Linked DNA regions of Homo sapiens: region 2 is linked to region 1. The links are contacts of gene promoters, found by promoter capture Hi-C in human tissues and cell types (Jung and others, 2019). All regions are on one chromosome and are shown on one strand. The core of a region is centred on a gene start or on the middle of the fragment in contact, and the rest is flanking DNA. Distances in the headings are between cores, read along the strand shown.

Region 1 (3,635 bases), core at 854-3,353:
ACCAAGGGTAGAGAGACCCTTACACCCACTCCCCACTGAGACAATGGATAAAGAGACCCTTACACCCGCTCCCCACTAGGACCAGGACACTGCACCATCCTTCATTTACTCAGCACTTGGAGAGAATCTGTTGTGTGTGTGTTGCAGGCTGGGGGATAGGCCAGCCACAAACCAGGCAGTGTCCAGGCTAGTGAGTATCTCACAGTTGTTTAGAGTGATAAAAAATTAAAGGAGTTCATCACTGTGTTTGCTTTAAACAAACATTTATGGGGTAGCTACTAGATGTTTGCTTTTGTCCTGGGTGCCTGGGTAAAGCACACATGCACATGCACGACTGCACACTTGCACTCAGGGGCACACACACACACACACCTACCCTGTGGAGCTTAATTCCCTGTGTGGGCCGGGCTAGGGGACACCATGGGGATCTGCTTCAGCAGAGGAGGGCTTTGTCCTTTCAGCCTAGATGTCCAGCTTGTTTCTAGTTTGTTTCATCATTTCCTCATGGCAAGATGGGAACTGTTATCCAAATTCTTCATCTTTTTTTAATAAATGAAGAAACTGACAGCTGGAGAGGAGAGGTGACTCATTTGCAATTAAGGAGTGGGGCAGAATTCTTGTCTCATTTACACCTGTGTCTGGCTTCAGGGCAAACTCTCTGCTATGTGGAGCTTCTTATATATTACCTTAGAAGCATCTCCAAGGTTCCTGGGGACATGTATGGGGGCAATAACTTGACGCTCTTGTTTTACATTTCCATGAATGCTTAGGCTTTAGTTTTTAAAATGTGGTGTTTGGGCCAGGTGTGGTTGCTCACGCCTGTAATCCCAGCACTTTGGGAGGCTCAAGTGGAGGATTGTCTGAGCCCAGGAGTTTAAGACCAGTCTTGGCAACATAGTGAGACCCTGACTCCATAAAAAATACTAAGGAGATTTTTTAAATGTAGGGTTATTTGCTTTTTACTTTATCATAAAGTTGTTGACTATTAAATTAACCTTTAAATGACTGACTGTCAAACAACTCCAACGGTCCAGCAACATGCTTGGCATTTAGCCTGTGGTCTTGTCACATGCCTGACAGCTGCCACGTACCCCCTGGTGTGGGGAACTTGGCTTATAAATTCTCAGCTTCTCGAACCCCATGGCCTTGTCCATGTTAGGTCAGGAAAGGCCTGTCCTTGGATGGTCTGGGTTATGGGGAGAGAGGCTGCCAGGGGCCAGGCTCGCTGGCCTGAGACTTTATAGACAGCCTAACAGCCTGCCCCGCAGGAAGGCTGGCGGGAGTGGAGCCCTCCCCCGTCAACAGGTGTCAGCTGTCACCCAGGACCTAGGCAGGGATGAGGAAGCACACAAAAGGCTCCACCAGTCCCCCTTTTTGTGTCTTTCTCCTCCTCCTCCTCCTGCGTCCCTTGGCAAAGCAAATCCCTGTCCCCTCGGAGAGTTCAGGGAGAGCTTGCTTAGGGCTGCGACTTCAGACACCAGCTCCCCTCTTTCTAGGTCCCCAGAGAGGTGGCCCAGCGGCTGGCCTGTTTCCCACTGGGAATGCGAGGGGCACCCGGGCCGGCCCAGGGCTGACCCACAGCAGGCTCGGGCAGTGGGTGCTCAGCTGGTCTGCACTGAACGCAACCGGAAGTGAGGGTCCTTTTCCTTCTCTGCGGCCACCCCCTCCTCCCCGAGCTTTCCTGAACCTTCTGGGTGCTCCAGGACTCCCGGCCCCGCGCTCCAAATGCTTCTCCGTTTTCTAAGCGGGGATGGGGAAACTCTGGATTCACATCCGTGTGTCAGGAAACCGTTCCCAGGGGAAGTGCGTCTGAGCTGAGGCTTACAGACCCAGGTAGGCGGTAGCGGAGGGGCCCTTGGGGTCCTGGTAACCTCGGGGAGCAGGGGAGTGACCCGCTCTGATTCGGTTTGGGCGCAAGCAAACCCAGGCCTGGCCGCCGGGCGCCTGGGCCGCGCCAACTCGCTCTCCCCCTCCCACGCCCGTCCGGCACCTCCTGGCCCGCCAAGCCCCAGATGCGGGTGTTTGTTCCAGAAAACTTTCGGCGGCGGCTCGCACTGAGCATGCTCGGCGGCGGGGCGGGCCTGGGGTCCGGAAGCTCCAGCGACTCGGCGGCACCCGCCGCTTTGAGGTAGCGGGTCCCGACAGGCGATGGACCCCTCGGGCTCCCGGGGGCGCCCCACGTGGGTGCTGGCCGGGGGTCTCCTGGCAGTGGCCCTGGCGCTGGGGGGCCGAGGCTGTCTCGGCGCCAGCTCACGTCCCCGCTGGCGCCCCCTCGGCGCGCAGCCACCCCGGGATCCCCAGGTGGCTCCTAGGTCTGGGCCCGGCCTGAGGATCCCTCCGGGGCGGAGCGGGGCGGGGCCCGAGAGCAGCACGCAGGTAAGGAGGGCCCGACCCCAGGCTCCGGTCTGACTGTAGTGGTTTGACTTTGTCTACACCGGCGGTGGCAGGGAGGACCCTTAGTATTTCGCAAAGAATGAGGAAGGGAGGGCAGGATCTGAATAGGGTGCTTCGCGGCCCTTAGGTGTATCCCGCTCACGGCCAGAAAGCTTCGAGGGAAACTGGAGACCTTCCTCGGGGTGTGGCAGCTGCCGGCTTGGACTTCACCAGCGACCCTGGTTCGAATCCTGCTCTCCATTTTACGAGCTTCGACCTAGGGCAGTTCACTCCTGTGCCCCAGTTTCCTGATCGTTGAAACGGGGCCGTCGCGGCGTCCACCCCAGAGGGTGGAAGTGGGTTAGATGAGCTCACATATGCAGAGCCCCTTGCAGAGGCCAGCACTGGGAAATTGCAGCGGTTTTTAAAAGTGGGGGCTCTTGGCTGGACTCTTAGGTGACTGAACTCTCCTGGCTGATGGATTTAGCCACTTCCTACTTCACCCTGGCCCTCCCTCTGTGGTCCTAAACTCGAAAGGCATGGATCCCTGGCTGTAGCCCTAGACTTGACCTCCCCCGACAAAGCTGGTCACCAGTCCTAGTGCCTTTTCCTCCAAATCAGCTCGGATGTCTGCCCCTCCTCACTCCCCACTGCCACTCCCTGGCTTCAGGTCCCACCACTTCACTTCCAGCCCTTGGTGATGGTTTTCCCACGTCTCCCATCCATTTTCCCCCAGACCTCTGGGGTGGTCTGTCCTGGTAGACATTCTGCCACTCCTGTCCCATGCTGGCACTCTTCTCTCCACCTTATTGCCCCTGACAGCACACCCAGGCTCCTATTCCCAGGACTGCCCTGGCCAATGGTCTGGCCCATTGATGCTGCCCTGAGGTCCTCCCACCTCTCTCCTAGGGTGGTGGGTCGTGTCCTGCTGTGTTCTCTACCCCAGGACACTTGCGACACTGGCAGAGGTTTAGTCTCTTAAAAGAGACCCTGCTCCCTTTCTGTCTTTAGGTTTTCACTGGAAAAACGCCATGTCAGTGTCCTGAGCTTTCAAAAGTCCAATGACAGAACATGTTCCCTGGGTCCTTTCACTTGCATCTGCCCTGTGAGATGGGAGTATCTGGCCCGTTTTGCAGGTGACAAAACCAAGGCTCAGGGAGCCGCGTCCCCAGGCCTGTCCTGTACTCTCTCTCTGGCCCCCGAGTTCAGAGCCTGCGTGCCTGGCCTCACCTGCTTTGCACAAGCTCTTCCTTCTGGGAAGC
Region 2 (3,844 bases), core at 364-2,863, 310 kb after region 1:
CCATTCCATTTCCACTGGCCTCTTCCATCACCCTCCTGTTAGGCAACTGCATTAATGGCCTCAATTGTTCACCCCTCTCTGGATCACCCCATTGCCATGTGCCTTTGCAATGTCTAGTCTCTCTGACTCTAGGTTTGGCCAAGTGACTCGCTTTGTCTCCTGCATTGGTGGCAAACACGACACAGGTGGAGGCTTGAGTGGCTGGGCTCTCCTGCTCTTGCTCCTGCTATGGCCATGAGCAGACCATGCAGATGAACTTGCAGGGGATAAGCTCAAGGAGCAGGGCTGAGTCACCCGGCCAGCCAGCCAAGGCCAGAGGGGATCGGCTGACAGCCAGTTGAGCCTCAGACATTGGAGTGGGTTTAGCCAACATCAACAGTCCTGCCTACCCAACCTTGGTCTTAGGAGCAAGCCCAGCCAAGATCAGCCAAGCCCAGCCTAGAGTCCCTCAACCCCAGGATGCTGTGAGCTAACGGGATGTTTTTTGTTTATGCGATTTAAGTTATGTGGTTCATTACCCAGCTTTATTGTACCAATAGAAAATCAATACAATTGCTTCCCCCCTCCCTCTATGTCTTTAAATTCCCCATTGTCTTGATCTTATGATCCTCAGCCTAAAATGCACTCAGCTCTTTTCCCTGCCTTGTTCTGAGATGCTGTATCTTCTTTCACTCTATTTTACCTCAATGCGTGGTATCTCTCTGCTTTTGCAGCTGGCTCAGAGACCTCAAATCTCAGAGCAGAATGAAAGTGTCCATTCCAAGACATAAAACCCTGAAAGATCAGAAAGTAAGGCAGACACTAGGGGAGCAGAGAAGCTTGTGAGAGATGCTTGGATTTTGTGTAACTAGCAGATTTTGGACATCATTAATAAAATATTAATGCATTTGTTTAATTATGTTTATATTTCATTTGAAACACAACTGACCAACTTGTTCTCTGAGAAAGTATTCAATGCAACCAATGATGGAACTCTTGAAATAGCAATACACAGTTATTGGTTTGTAAAAGGTTTTGTCATGCAGTTTACAAAAGGTGCAAGTAGATGCCAGCACGAATGGGGTGCCCTTAGGACTCATTTAGGAACACATACTGTCCTGCTCATCTTATGGCTAGGTCATGTTTCACAGTGAAGGTTTTGAAGGCATAAGATTAATTTTAAATGTTATAAACCTACAAAATAAACTGCTGTTGTATTCCTCAAACAGCCATTCCCCTCTTGTTTCTGCAGTTCTGCCCCACTGTCTCTACCACCTGTCCATCCAGGCACCTTCCTCTGTTTGGCCTTGTCATGCCTTCAGGATCCCACTGTCATGCGGCTGCCTCTAAGACAACCCCGCACACACCTTTCCCTCTCCCCTCTGCCCGACCTCTCCTGAGCTTCCCCACACTCTCCCCAACACCATGAAACCCATCAGCGTTGGGACCCTGTTTGCCTTGTTCATCATTCTGTTAACCAGAACTTGGCACACAGCAGGTGCTCAAGAGATGTTTACTGAGGGAAAGACAAAGGCAAGAATGGCCAGCTTCAGGCTCTGCTCAAAAAGCCGATCAGCTCCCCTCAGAAGAGCAGGTAAAGGAGGGCCATGGGCATAGAATTCTCTCTTTCTCTTCTCTCCCCAGAAAGGAGACTCTTCTTTTTCTGAGCGGAATTCCCTGCTCCTAAATTTCTTTTCTGTACCACCTGCAAAGCCACTCATTGAGTGTTGGAGTGGGGAAGGGTTATCAGCCATTCACCTCACAGTATGAAATATTATATTCAACGCTCTGTCCCACCAGCTAGCAGAGACTTTTCGATGAAATGGGAGGCTGGAGAGGGAGAAGACTGGATGCAGGGGCACTTGGGGAGTGTGTGGGGTGCTGCATAGCCAGAAGGCAGGGCTGGGACACTGTGAAGGCCAAGCAGGGGGTGGAAAAAGATGAGGAGCTCAAGGGGGCAGAACGAGATGCAGAAAGAATGTGGGGAAGGCTGAGGTGGAGGCTGAGAATGGGTACAGAAAGGGAGGCGGAATGGGATGGATGGAAATCCAAAAGGCAGGAAAGAGAAAACCTAGGGGAGGCTGCCTGGGAGCAGCCCGCCTGCCTATATCTTTTGTGCAGCAGCTTCAGGGGAGCTGTGGCCAAGGTCTGTGAGGATGGAGCCAGAACTATGAAGCCAGGCAGTCCTGGGTTACCCCCATACTCTCTGTGTCACTTTTCCTCATCAGTGCAATGGCTAGCTTATTGCTATTGATGTTTCTGTCTGAATTTTGCTTCTGGACCGCTTTGCAGGGCCAGGAAGTCTCCCCCTAGCGGTCTCTCTTAATAGGACAGAGCCTTGAGGATGCTGCCTGGAACCCAGCCTTCCAGACCCCTGCTTTCCAGACAGCTAAGCAGAACCAGCCTCTGTGTTTTCTCACCTCTTTACCCTGCTTCTGTGATTTGACCTTGCCTGGCCCTGAGCAGAGAAAGGGGACAGGAAGAGGGCGAGTTATCTACCCCTTCCCGAGCGCTTGCATACTGTGATGGGTGGCTGACCTTCGAGTCTCACCCGAGATGAGACATTCACCACCCTGCAAGGTGGGTCAATTACTTCTGCATCGCTGCTGGGAAGGCTGAGACACGGAGGTACAGCCACTGGCCCAAGGACATTCAGCTGGCTGGGGGCTCAGCTGAGTGCCACATCTGAAGATCCTGACTTTTAGATACAAACTGGAGACGTTGCTTTCGCTTCCTTTCCAGCCTTGATTTGGATCCTCAGCTCTGTCCATGCCCCAGGCATCTTGGGGCTGCTGCTGACCTTCCATTCAGGAGCACAGTGAGTTCAATCCTACTGCCCCCAAAGCACTTAGTCTGGTTCCAGCATCTGATGCAGAGATGCAAATGGTCCCATCCACCACTCCTGTACATAGGGATGCACACTATGAGGTTAGGATGCCCCAAGCTATGCTGCTGGCTCATGGAAGGTTCGAGAGGAGCTCTGAGATAGAACCATGACCTCAGCCTGCAGAGGTGGGGAAGGAGGGTGGGGGAGCTGCGTAGAAAATGTGACTCATTCATCCCTGAAGGCCTCAGCAGGGATGAGAATCCCTACTTCAGAAGAATTCGCACCTGCTCCCTCCAGCCAACCCCATGTTAGGCCCTGAGAGACGGGCCCCTGAAGCAATGCCAGTGAATTTAGTTTTGAAGGCTGTAAGTCTCCTGTTGGCATCAGCCACAATTGATTGTCAAGTCCACTGAGCATTCTTGATCTGAGCCCTAGGCTCATGGTTCTTAAACTTTGTGGGCATTCCATCCCAACACAGGACACAGGATCCAGAACACAGGAGCCCAGGCTTGCTGAAGCAGGACCGGGCCTGACCTCTGATTTTTACCAGGTCCCCCAGGTAATTCTGGTAAGGCCAGAGTTGGAGAGCCACTGACTTGGTGCCTTGCTACTCAAGGTGTGGTCCATGGACCAGCAGCATCAGCCACCTGGGAGCTTTGCAGACTCTGGACTTTGCAGAGTCTAGTCCCATCTCAGACTTACTAAATCAGTTTGAGAAGATGCCTAGGAGATCTGTGTGCACATAAAGGAAATTTTGAGAAGCCTGACATAGCCGATAGATGAGTAAATGCTTAGTGGATTATCAAGTATTAAGCTCTGCTTGCTAGAAATGAGTGTGTACTCTCATTTCACCCTCATGAACACCCTGCAAGGGAGGTGCCTTCTCCCCAGTTTACAGAAAATTACACTGAGGCTCAGAGAGGTGGGTGACTTCTGAAGCCACACGTTCATAGGTGAGGGAGTTGGGGTTGGAACCCCGGGCTCATCCTCACGGCGGCCCTGTCCTCCTCACACGGGGATATGAACAGCAATGACTTC

The links. Contacts are between HindIII fragments. The study calls those that stand out against the background at their distance.
Region 2: a fragment that was not itself captured here is called in contact with the fragment with the promoter of EVC2 in region 1 in 1 of the 25 tissues and cell types used here (dorsolateral prefrontal cortex).

What each region holds. Positions count from the first base shown.
Region 1 is chr4:5,707,027-5,710,661 of GRCh38, reverse strand. EVC2 (EvC ciliary complex subunit 2) reads left to right here and starts at 2,103. Exons shown (of 22, transcript NM_147127.5): 1 at 2,103-2,376. The coding sequence starts at 2,149. RefSeq lists silencers at 2,014-2,063, 2,104-2,483 and an enhancer at 1,544-2,163. The HindIII fragment of the contact is 11,868 bases long and covers 1-3,635 here.
Region 2 is chr4:5,398,463-5,402,306 of GRCh38, reverse strand. The region is part of intron 5 of STK32B (serine/threonine kinase 32B); the gene reads right to left. Among named protein-coding and RNA genes, the nearest start is that of LINC01587, 120 kb to the left of the region's middle. The HindIII fragment of the contact is 3,188 bases long and covers 20-3,207 here.